Linked DNA regions of Homo sapiens: all the other regions are linked to region 1. Evidence: promoter capture Hi-C in 16 types of primary human blood cells and fetal thymus (Javierre and others, 2016). All regions are on one chromosome and are shown on one strand. Each heading gives the region's core, a stretch centred on a gene start or on the middle of the fragment in contact. The rest is flanking DNA. Distances are from core to core; before and after follow the strand shown. Region 1 holds the start of TP53INP1 (tumor protein p53 inducible nuclear protein 1). Region 2 overlaps LOC124901982 (a long non-coding RNA gene). Region 3 has its middle 20 kb from the start of PLEKHF2. Region 4 has its middle 21 kb from the start of MIR3150BHG.

What was found. The method cuts DNA at HindIII sites, captures the fragments that hold promoters and counts their contacts. A CHiCAGO score of 5 or more calls a contact.
Region 2: a contact is called between a fragment that was not itself captured here and the fragment with the promoter of TP53INP1 in region 1, in 3 of 17 cell types (naive B cells, total B cells and neutrophils). The highest score is 8.5, in naive B cells.
Region 3: a contact is called between a fragment that was not itself captured here and the fragment with the promoter of TP53INP1 in region 1, in 4 of 17 cell types (neutrophils, monocytes, total B cells and 1 more). The highest score is 18.2, in neutrophils.
Region 4: a contact is called between a fragment that was not itself captured here and the fragment with the promoter of TP53INP1 in region 1, in 1 of 17 cell types (neutrophils). The highest score is 8.3, in neutrophils.

Annotation. Positions count from the first base shown.
Region 1 is chr8:94,948,077-94,950,758 of GRCh38, forward strand. It overlaps TP53INP1 (tumor protein p53 inducible nuclear protein 1), which reads right to left and starts at 1,302. Exons shown (of 4, transcript NM_033285.4): 1 at 1,078-1,302. It also overlaps a transcript of NDUFAF6 not described here. RefSeq lists enhancers at 643-1,271, 1,272-1,901, 1,768-1,937, 2,108-2,157 and silencers at 718-857, 1,078-1,457, 1,538-1,647. The HindIII fragment of the contact is 4,012 bases long and covers 1-2,682 here.
Region 2 is chr8:95,169,460-95,172,141 of GRCh38, forward strand. All of the region lies in intron 1 of LOC124901982 (a long non-coding RNA gene), which reads left to right. Among named protein-coding and RNA genes, the nearest start is that of PLEKHF2, 37 kb to the left of the region's middle. The HindIII fragment of the contact is 5,000 bases long and covers 1-2,682 here.
Region 3 is chr8:95,112,011-95,114,692 of GRCh38, forward strand. It overlaps a transcript of NDUFAF6 not described here. Among named protein-coding and RNA genes, the nearest start is that of PLEKHF2, 20 kb to the right of the region's middle. The HindIII fragment of the contact is 8,286 bases long and covers 1-2,682 here.
Region 4 is chr8:95,093,089-95,095,770 of GRCh38, forward strand. It overlaps a transcript of NDUFAF6 not described here. Among named protein-coding and RNA genes, the nearest start is that of MIR3150BHG, 21 kb to the left of the region's middle. The HindIII fragment of the contact is 6,887 bases long and covers 1-2,682 here.

The sequences.
Region 1 (2,682 bases), core at 52-2,551:
AGCAATAGATGCCCAAGTCCTTGGGAGTCACAGTTGTAAAGAGGCTCTTCCTTAATCCACTCTGTATTGGAATTAACCTACTGAGCAGATATAATCAGAAAATACAAGCAAAACAGACTCTCCAGGTAAAATTCAGCTGCCACTTTGAAATACAAACACCATTTCCTTTTATTAATTGGCTGTGTGGCCTTGAGCAACTTAATCTCTCTGTGCCTCGGGTTTCCTATGTGTAAGATAGCCGGGCCTATTTCATATAAGGTTATTATGAGAATCAACTGGGGCGATAAAGCAAAGCCCCCAGCATAGTATATGGCACATACTCAGCGCTCAGTAAGCGTGAGCGATCCAAAGGATCTAAATGTTAAGGGCCAAGGAGAGCGCTCTTTCCACAGGTGCAAAGTCAGGTAGCGAAGACTGAGTTCAAGCCAGGTCAAGCAAGGGACAGGCCGCGGACAGGCGGGGGCCGGTGGCCGGGTCACGGAGCAGGTTCCCCATAGCCGCAGGGCCTCCGGAACTCGGAGGGCAGGCGCAGGGGACGGGATCGCAGGGCGGGGACAGAGCGCCGGGCCACAAGCCCAAGCGCCGCTGTCTTCGGAGATGCGTCCCGGGGGTGGCCGCGGGAGCCCCGACGCCGAGTCCCGAAGGGGCGGCCCCATCCAACGGCCGAGAGCAGGCGGAGGAGGAGGAGTGGAGGGGAGTGAGGAGGGGTGAGAGGAGGAGGTCCCGCCGCGGCCAAGAAAACAAGCCACGCTCGGGGGAGGAGGCAGAGACCAAACTCCCAACCGCCGCCCAGCGCCGGGGCCAGGCCGGGCCCTTGTCCGCGCCGCCGCCGCCTCTGTCAGCCTCTGTCCGCGCCCTGGGCCCCGGGGGCCGCCGAGGACCGACCCACTGGGTGGGCGGCCGGGCCCGGCGGCGGCGAGGGGAGGCAGCGAGGGGGCTCGGTGAACGCGCAACCGGCGCCCCGAAGGCAGGGCGCGCGGCCGGCCCCGCCGGGCTCAGGAGCGGGCAGCGCTGCGGCCCCAACCGGCAGCGAGGCGGCCCTGGACGGACGCCCGCCCGCCCCCCCCCGGCACTTACGTGGGCCCGGGCCGTGCGGGGCTGCGCGGGGAAGGGAGCGGCCGCCGGCTCGGCGGGGAAGGACGCGGGCGGGGCGGGACTGCTGAGGTAGCTGCGGTGGGGCCGGGCTGCGCTGCACCTCGTTCAGGTACCCAGACGGCAGGCGCGGGGCCGGCTCCAGCCCTCGGGTCGCTGCGCCCAGGCCGGCCAGTCCAAGTCCTTTTGTTGTTGTGCAGCGCTCGCAACAGCTGATCGGCCGCTCCGCTCGCCGTCGGGCCCCGCTGCCCCGCCCCGGGCCGCGCCAGGCCGGGCCCCACCAATCGGCGGTGCGGGGGCCCCGGGGCCGCCCTGCGAGAGGTTGTCACCAACGCACGTGACCTGGCGCCCGGCCGGCGGCGCGCTCAGCTCCGAAACAAGCCCGGGCAACAAAAACCGGGAGCTGAGCGTGAAGGCCTGGGCGAGCGGAAGGGTGGGAGAGAGGGGCTAGGCCGGGGAGGGAAGCGCTGGGGCCGGGGCCGGCTTTCCAGGAGCCGGCGGGAGCGGGGTGCGTAAGAGGCGGGCGAGGAAGAACCGGCGGGCAACGGGAAGGGCAGAGGTGGATCTCTCCCTCAGCGACCCCTCTCGCCGAGTGAAGGGTCGAGGGTTTGGGGCACAAAGGGCGCAGAACGTTTTTTCCTGTGAGAGGAACATTAAGACTCCTGGGAGGGCTGGGGCTAACGCCTCCGAGAGCCCCACCTGGTCAGCCTAGGGTTAGACGTGTAGCCAGGGTGCTGGGAGGGGGCCGCTGCTGGGCCCCAGATAGAGGGGTAGAGGCCGCTCAATCACGGAGCCAGGCCCCACCTGCTGTAGAAACCGCCACCGAGAGCCGGCCGGGCTTGCTGCACGCTCTGGATTCCGCCTGCCTATAGGCGAGGCACAAGGGACTGCGAGACCAGGCCTGAAGGCAGAGAGGTCAGCAGGCTCGGGGGCCTCTGCTCCAGCGGACAACAAGCGCACCGGGCGGGAACGGCCGCCTCCCCAGGCGCTGCAGCCTAGCTCTCATGTGACCCACGGAACTTAGCCCCTCTGTTCTGTTTGCATACCTGCAAATTGTGGGCATTCACGCCGGGACTGCCAACTCACCAGGTTATTTATAGTGACAAGAGAGTGAGACAGTGGGCTTGAAAGTGTTTTCCAGACCAAGGCTCTGTCCCACATATAGGTGGATTAACTGTCTGGCAAAGGCAGGTGAGTAACGTTGATGCCTATCAGCTCTCATGTGGATACTGTTTGGACTGGGATGTAGTTCTTTGACCTGGGGTGAGCTGTATAGCAACCCTGGAGGGATGCCTATCACACATTACAGTATCTGAAAGACACTCACATTCTGACCCTCACAATGTAGTCAGTCCATTTCCAACAATGCTGGTTTTAAAGGATGTAAATTGCAGTGCAGGGAGTTGTCAGACACCAAGGAGTAATGATCAAAATATGATGGTCATTGGACCTTATCTTGGGAGAAAGAGCTAAAACTGTGTTCTAGATAGTCTCACAGACTTGAACATGCTTTGGATTTTAGGTTTTTGCAAATCAGGCTTGTTCTAATATTTTCTCCCACATGCTATGGTAGGAGCCCCATGATCTCTT
Region 2 (2,682 bases), core at 109-2,608, 220 kb after region 1:
GAGGAAATGTCACCTGGAACTGACATTGTGGTTCTTCTCTCAACTCCTAGGTGCAGTCTGTGGGGTGAGGGAGAATAAGTGGCATCCCCTTGAGAGGAGAACAGGGGAGACGCAGTGTCCCTGCAAGGATGAGCAAGGTGGAGAGAAGGACCCATTGGTGATATGGCTTCAGATGAGAGATTTTTACCATGGAATGAAGTTCTAGAGGGCTCAGATAAAGGTTATGCAGAGAGGGAGCAATGAGAGGTTGGTGAATGGCGAGGAAGATCAGATCTCTTGTGGATGTTAGAGTGTAGCCAAAGAGATGACCTGAGAAGCCTGCATTTTGGCCCTTGACTAAAGAAAATGGGAATTTGGTGTTTGGAGACACTAGCTGGCTACAAGTTTTCTAAAAGAATGAGTTCCAGAAGTCGTCTAGTGCATGGGAGGAGGTAGAGTGGGACTCCAGGCCTTCTAGAAGGAGGTAGCCTTCCTTGGACTGAGGAGGAATGATTTTCCCACAGAACAAAGAGCATGATCAGAGGCACAGAGGGAGTTTCACGATACCAGGGTCCAGAAACTAAGTAGGTCAGTGCCGCTGGGATGCAGTGTTTGTGGAAGAGTGCCTGCCTGTCAGGTGGGGCCAGATTATGAGAAGCCTTGCAGCACTTACTCAGGACTTTAGACTTTATGCAGAGATGTGACGCAATGAGAGTTCCCTGATGCCAGCGAGAAGGGCGGACTGAGGGCAGACCAGGCAGGAGACCAGGAGCATGGACATTCCTGGCACGGAGAACATAAAGTGATGAGAGCTACAGAGGAGTCAGAAGTGATACCCAATGAGAGAGAAAGAGAGACAAAGTGGCAGGGGAAGAGAGGAGAGATAACTAGGAGAGAGGCCAGATGCGGAGGCTCATGCCTATAGTCCCAGCATTTTGGGAGGCCAAGGTGGGCGGATCACTTGAGGTCAGGAATTCGAGACCAGCCTGGCCAACATGGTGAAACCCCGTCTCTACTAAAAATACAAAAATTAGCCTGGTGTGGTGATGTGTGCCTGTAGTCCCAGCTACTCGGGAGGCTGAGGCAGAAAATTGCTTGAACCCAGGAGGTGGAGGCTGCAGTGAGCTGAGATCGCACCACAGCACTCCAGCCTGGGCGACAGAGTGAGACTCTGTCTCAAAAAAGAAAGAAAGAAAGAAAGAAAGATAGGAGAGAATGAGAGCTAGAGACAGAGAGAGAGAAATAAGGGGATGGGAGTAGAGAGATAGGTGAGAGAGAGGAGAGAGAGAGAAGAGAGACAGAGACATAAGAGAGAGAGAGACAGAGAGAGAAGGTGCTGAGAAGAGGGAGAAAACTTCAGAACACTAAGGTCTGCCCAGGCTTATACCACAGGAACATCTGAACAGTAACACAGGTACTAAGGAATGGATCTTTTTGTACATTTGGCTTTTTTGCATCTGATGTGAACAGATAAGTATAGTAGCTGTTTGTTATGCTTCCTTTTAATAAATGATGATTATCAACTGTCATAAACCTCCTGCAATTTAGATTCAGATCCTGCATCACTTAGAAACCAAATATATGTGCATCATTGATGCTGCAGTGACCACATCACCTGAAAATCCTTAAATGAGACATCATTATTCTTGATTTGTAAATTTATTCATGCTCTGTCTTCTTTAATTAAAGATTCCAGGGAAAAGTAATTCAGAAAGAGGAGGACAGACTAGAGAATTAAAAGGTAACTAAAATAAAGGTCTACGTAGGGACCTAAGGTAAAATTTAGTGCTCTGAAGAGCTACGGAGACTAATGAATTCACACGGTGAATATTAGATGTGAAATTCTCAGTTGTTGACCCTTGGGTTGTTTAAACATTCTGAATTTATCTGGATTTCTCCATGATGGAAGTTGACAAAACTATTTAATATTAACTCATCACTATTTTATTCCTTTTGTTCTCCTGTGATAATAACAGGAGTCTGGCCGGGCATGCTGGCTCATGCCTGTAATCCCAACACTTTGGGAGGCCGAGGCAGGTGGATCACCTGAGGTCGGGAGTTCGAGACCAGCCTGACCAACATAGAGAAACCCCGTCTCTACTAAAAATACAAAATTAGCCGGGCGTGGTGGCACATGCCTGTAATCCCAACTACTCAGGAGGCTGAGGCAGGAGAATCGCTTGCACCTGGGAGATGGAGGTTGCAGTGAGCTGAGATCATGCCATTGCATTCCAGCCTGGGCAACAAGAGCGAAACTCCATCTCAAAAAATGAACAAACAAACAAACAAAAAAAACAGGAGTCTATATAGACTGGGAAGTTCAGTCCCATGATAGGTAATAGGTAGATTATTTTTGCTGACCTCCTGATCGTTAGTTTGTCTTACAATGTTTTCATGACCATCGTCTCCAAGTTGGAGCCAAACGTCTTTATTTTACAAGATTTTTCACCAGTGGTCACTCTCCAGTTGAATGAACATTTGCTTGTTCATTCTTCTCATTTTAAAAGTCTTATTCCATCTTACTAGAAGCCACTTGTTTACATTCTGGAGCCCAATACAGTAATAGAGACTGTTTTTCTTATTGTATATCTCTGTGGTCTGAGTTCCTTAACCTGCATGATGACAAATGGAGTACAGGCCATCGATATATGTGTGTGTCTGTGTGCTTGCATGCAAGTGTGTGCGTTCTTGTACATGAGAGTG
Region 3 (2,682 bases), core at 49-2,548, 160 kb after region 1:
CCTACTGTTCTTAGAAAGAAACCCATGCTTCCAACTATGGCGGACAGAATAATGGCCCCTCAAAGATGTCCACCTCCTAATCCTTGGAACCTAATTATGCTATTTTACATGGCCAAAGGGGCTTTGCATATGTGCTTAAGTTAAAGACTAAGAGTGCAAAGGCCTCTGCTTTTGTATGTAATTGTAATGGGTTGAATAGTGGCCCTCAGAAAGATATGTTCAAATCTGAACCCCCAGAACCTGTGGATTTGACCTTATTTAAAAAACCGTTCTTTGCAGATACAATGACATGAAAGGTCTCAAGATGAGATCATCATGGGTTTAGGGTGGGCCCTAATCTAGTGACAGGTGTCCTTATAAGAGAAAGGCAGAGGAGATTTAAGATGCAGAGACACACGGGGGAGACTGGAGCTCCACTGACACAAGCCAGTGAACTCCTACAGTCACCAGAAGCTAGAAAGGCAAGGAAGGATTCTCTCCTGGAGACTTCAGAGAGAGCTTGAACGTTCTGGCCTCTAAAACTATGAGAGAGTGGATTTCTATTGTCTTTAGGCCATTCAGTTTGTGACAATCTGTTCTGGCAGCCACAGGAAACCAACACAACAATCTTCCCTACACTCCTCTGTTACACCATAAACCATTAAGATCCTGTTTGCCTACCACGTTGCAGACAAAAGACACCTTGCCATCCTGCTCCCTCCTGTCCCTCCATGCTCCTGCCGATTCCTCTCTCTCCTCCCCAGTGCTTTGATGACCCATTAGTATATATTTCTCTGTGTGACTTTGCTTTTAGCACACACAGTACAAACATTAAGATTAAAAACAAACAGCACTAAGATTAAAAATGTTTAGCAACCAGGATGCCCCATGGGCTGACAAATCTGAATGGACGCCAGTTGCCACGATGGAGCAAAGTCCAGATGGCCCACTGCCAGGCCAGGCATTGCCCCCTTAGGTGCTGGATCCTGGCCAGCAGATATTGGCAAGACTCCTGGTGTTAATTCTCACTGTATACCAGGGCCTGTGCTGAGTAGACGATCTCTTTGAGACCACCACAGTCCTACGGGTGAGGAAACTGAGACTGACTGAAGTTCAGTGATGTGCCGGAGGTCACACAGGTTGTAAGCAAGTGGCAGAGGAAGGGCTGGAAACCTGGTGGCCTGACTTTAGTCTGATTTTTTGTGGGGAGTGTGAGGAAAATCCTGGAGAGAATCATTTCTCTATGGAGTAGGGAATACTTAAAAAAGATGTGTCATCAGTCTAGGGGCCTTCGAAAATTAAATTATTTACTTCAGACAAATGGTGCCAGAGGGGATAGTAGCTGACTCATCATTCAGTCCCCACTGGAGCTGCAGGTATAAGCGCTGGGAGGGAGGTCTCATGGAGGAATGATCAACTCTGCGCCATCCCCATCCCAGGGAGAGGAGAGCTCAGAGCTTATGATACAGTGAGGTGCAGAGTACGCAGAGTCTGAGGGACCTTCCAGGGGTCAGGAATTGTATCCAGGTTCCGGGAGGTGAGAACTTGGCGGGATTTCTTAAGCCCTGAGGCTTTCCTGCATTGACTCTTCTTGCCTTCAAGCCCTGCTTGCCTTCCTGAGGTCATCTGCAGTGAAGGCTTAGCCAGGAAAGGAAATAAGTGCTTTTGTTAGGAAAGAGCAAAGACTGCATTGGACAAGCAATCTGCACCTCCATCCTTGGACTAGAGAAGAGAAGTCAGAGATAAAATGAGTGCCACTGGCAAGAATCACATGAACCCGGGAGGCAGAGAGGTTGCGGTGAGCTGAGGTGGCACGACTGCACTCCAGCCTAGGGGACAGAGAGAGACTCCGTCTCAAAATTTGTAGGGACATGGATGAAATTGGAAACCATCATTCTCAGTAAACTATCGCAAGAACAAAAAACCAAACACCGCATATTCTCACTCACAGGTGGGAATTGAACAATGAGATCACATGGACACAGGAAGGGGAACATCACACTCTGGGGACTGTTGTGGGATGGGGGGAGGGGGGAGGGATAGCATTGGGAGATATACCTAATGCTAGATGACGAGTTAGTGGGTGCAGCACACCAGCATGGCACATGTATACGTATGTAACTAACCTGCACAATATGCACATGTACCCTAAAACTTAAAGTATAATAATAATAAAACAAACAAACAAAAAATGAATGGTGTTGTCTTTAAAGGGAGAAGGGCCCTCAGTGGCCTGAGGCTTGCACAAGAGAAGAAAGGAGAAGGGTGGGGAGTGGGTGCCTCACCCTTAGCCAGAGGCATGGTCCCAGAAGTTTAACCACTGAACCCCAGTGGTTCCCTGACAGGCAGGTGGAGGTGAATGTGAGGGAGGCCCACAGGACCGCAAAAGCAGCTGGTGCTGTGAGTTCACCAGTAAGTGACTTTCCTGTGATTTCCCCGCTTATACCAAAAGCCATGTTTGCTGAAAGTCAATGGCATTTTCTGGAACTGCCTATGGAGGTGTACTTCACAGGAACTTTTAAATAACTTTAGTCCCAAGTGATTCATTATTCTATTCCATTAGTTAGTTGTTGGCAGATCTGTCACACCGTATACAAAAGCTGAGCTATTTCAGTGACTGTACTTATGAGTCATCTTGCTGACTTTCTGTATATATTTTCTACCACTGTTCTATAATCTCTTTCATTCACCCGGTATATACAG
Region 4 (2,682 bases), core at 57-2,556, 150 kb after region 1:
CACTGGGTAGCTGTTCTAATCCCTTGGGAGTGTAAGGGGTGGGTGGGAGGGGTGGAGATGTAACTTGGGTTCTAGAGTCCGCCTTGGTGGATTTGCATTCTGACCCACCACTCATTTCAGGACCTTGAACAATCTACTTTATCTATGTCTTGGGTTCCTCATCAGCAAAATCAGAATGATAATATCTATCTTTGGGGTTGTGAGAAAGAAACTTCTTATCTGAGGAATGCAGGCCTCCTTTCATTATCAGGCCCAAAGCAGCACTGAAACATGACAATGTGTGACAGAAGTCATGTCTCATTGCCCCTTGAGCTAAATAATTACTTCTTGAAGCCACTTGCTTATGTGAGCTCTAGAGTATCTGATGCCAAGACTCCATAAAATTGCATACACTGGACACCATAACTCATACCCTATAGTTCAACAATGTATACCCAATCACTCGTTAATGTTACTTCTGTAAACTAATGAGGATTCCAAAAGATTTTTTTATCAGACCACTCCCTGTCCCCTTTTTGTCTTTAAAACCTGCTTGTAACAAAGTAACAAAGGCCAAAGGCAGCATTCCCCAAGGCAAATTGGAAGTGTCCTGGGCTACAGTCCTCAACCCTGGCCCAAATAAACTATATTAATTTTGCCTCAGTTTCTTTCCTTAGGTCAACAGTTGGGAGGCTTAGATGAGATAATATAGGCAATGTCCTTATAACAAATTCTTAACACATATTAAGTATTCAGTTAATGTTAGGTAGCTAGTGGTATGATTGCCACACATCTTCCCTGCAAAGGGCCCACAGTTGTTCTTCCCTCACTTAATTAGCTACCTTCTTTTCTTTTGTTTTCTCTCCTCAAGGCCTTCTTTAGACCTGAAATAAATACTTCCTTTTTTTGTTGTTTTTTTTTGAGACAGCGTCTCACTCTGTTGCCCAGGCTAGAGTGCAGTGGCGTGATCTCGGCTCACTGCAACCTCTGCTTCCTGGGTTCAAGCGATTCTCCTGCCTCAGCCTCCCTAGAAGCTGGGATTACAGGCATGCACCACCACGCTTGGCTAATTTTTTGTATTTTTAGTAGAGACAGGTTTTCGCCATGTTGGCCAGACTGGGCTTGAACTCCTGACCTCAGGTGATCCGCCCACCTTGGCCTTCCAAATTGCTGGGATTATAGGCGTGAGCCACCACACCCGACCAAGAAATACTTCCTTTTTCACCCCTTCCTCTTCCACTTCCTTTGGCCACTGTGCCCAACTATTCTATGTCTTTCCTTTTTCTTTCCTTCTTTCTTTTCTTTTCTTTCCTTCTTTCTTTTCTTTTCTTTCTTTTTTTTTTTTTTGGATTTTTTTTTTTTTGAGACAGAGTCTCACTCTGTTGCCCAGGCTGGAGTGCAGTGGCACGATCTTGGCTCACTGCAACCTCTGCCTCCAGGATTCAAGTAATTATCCTACCTTAGCCTCCCAAGTAGCTGAGATTACAGGCGCCTGCCACCATGCCTGGCTAATTTTTATATTTTTTTAGTAGATATGGGGTTTCACCATGTTGGGCAGGCTGGTCTTGAACTCCTGACCGCAGGTGATCTGCCCACCTCGGCCTCCCAGAGTGTTGAGATTACAGGCGTGGGCCTCTGCGTCTGGCCTCTTTCTTTCTTTTTTCTTTCCTTCTTCTTCTTCTTCTTTTTTTTTTTTTTTTTAAGAAATAGGGTCTTCGTCTGTTATCCAGGCTAGAGTGCAGTGTCATGATCACAGCTCATGGCAACTTTGAACTCCTTGGCCCAAGACACCCTCCTGCATCAGCTTCCTGAGTAGCTAAGACTACAGGTGCACACCACCACGCCCAGCTAATTTCTTAATTTTTTGCAGAGTTTGGGGGTGGCGGGGGGTGTCTCACTGTGTTGCCCAGGTTGGTCTTGAACTACTGGCCTCAAACTATCCTCCCACCTCAGCCTCCCAAAGTGAGGTGGCCACCATGCCTGGCCCACATTTTTCTATTGATCCTCACCTAAGTCTGTTGGCACTCAACAGATACTAACCATCACGCAGTCAGATAGGAGAAAGATTAAAAAAAGAAAAAGCCGTGGACTCCATAGATTTGGGTTTGACCCATGGTTGTAGAGGATTCTTTCCCTCTCACAGGCAGGCATCTATGATTAATTTGCACAGTGTGCCTCAGAGCGTGAATCAGGAGAAAATCTGGTGGTTTGACCAACCCAGAGATGGGGGTGAAGCTAGCTGAGAAGATAGTCACCTTAGTACTGCTGGAGAAGGAAGGATGTGAGGGTTTGGTGGACACAGTCATCCGAATGGGATCCAGGTCATTAATCCTTGGCCGCTCTCTGTGCCCAGTGGCCTCCTCTCAACCAAGGTGCAAACTAAAGGCAATTCACCCTGAACCCCAGGGTGGAGTGCAGGGGAATCCAGCACACGTGGGAAGGTCTGTCCCCCAAGACTTTCTTGTTCTGGCCTGAGGCTGTTAAATTCCCTGGGGCTGATTGCTCCTCAGTCTCTCCTAAATTTTGTGCATTCCATGCTCACTCCACCCCCATTAGCCAATACAAGAGTTTTCTTGTGTCTAAAAAAGATCATTTCGCTTTTTTTTTTTTTCTTTGAGACCAATTCTCACTCTGTCTCCCAGTCTAGAGTGCAGTAGCATGATCTCAGCTCATTGCAACCTCTGCCCCCTGGGTTCAAGTGAT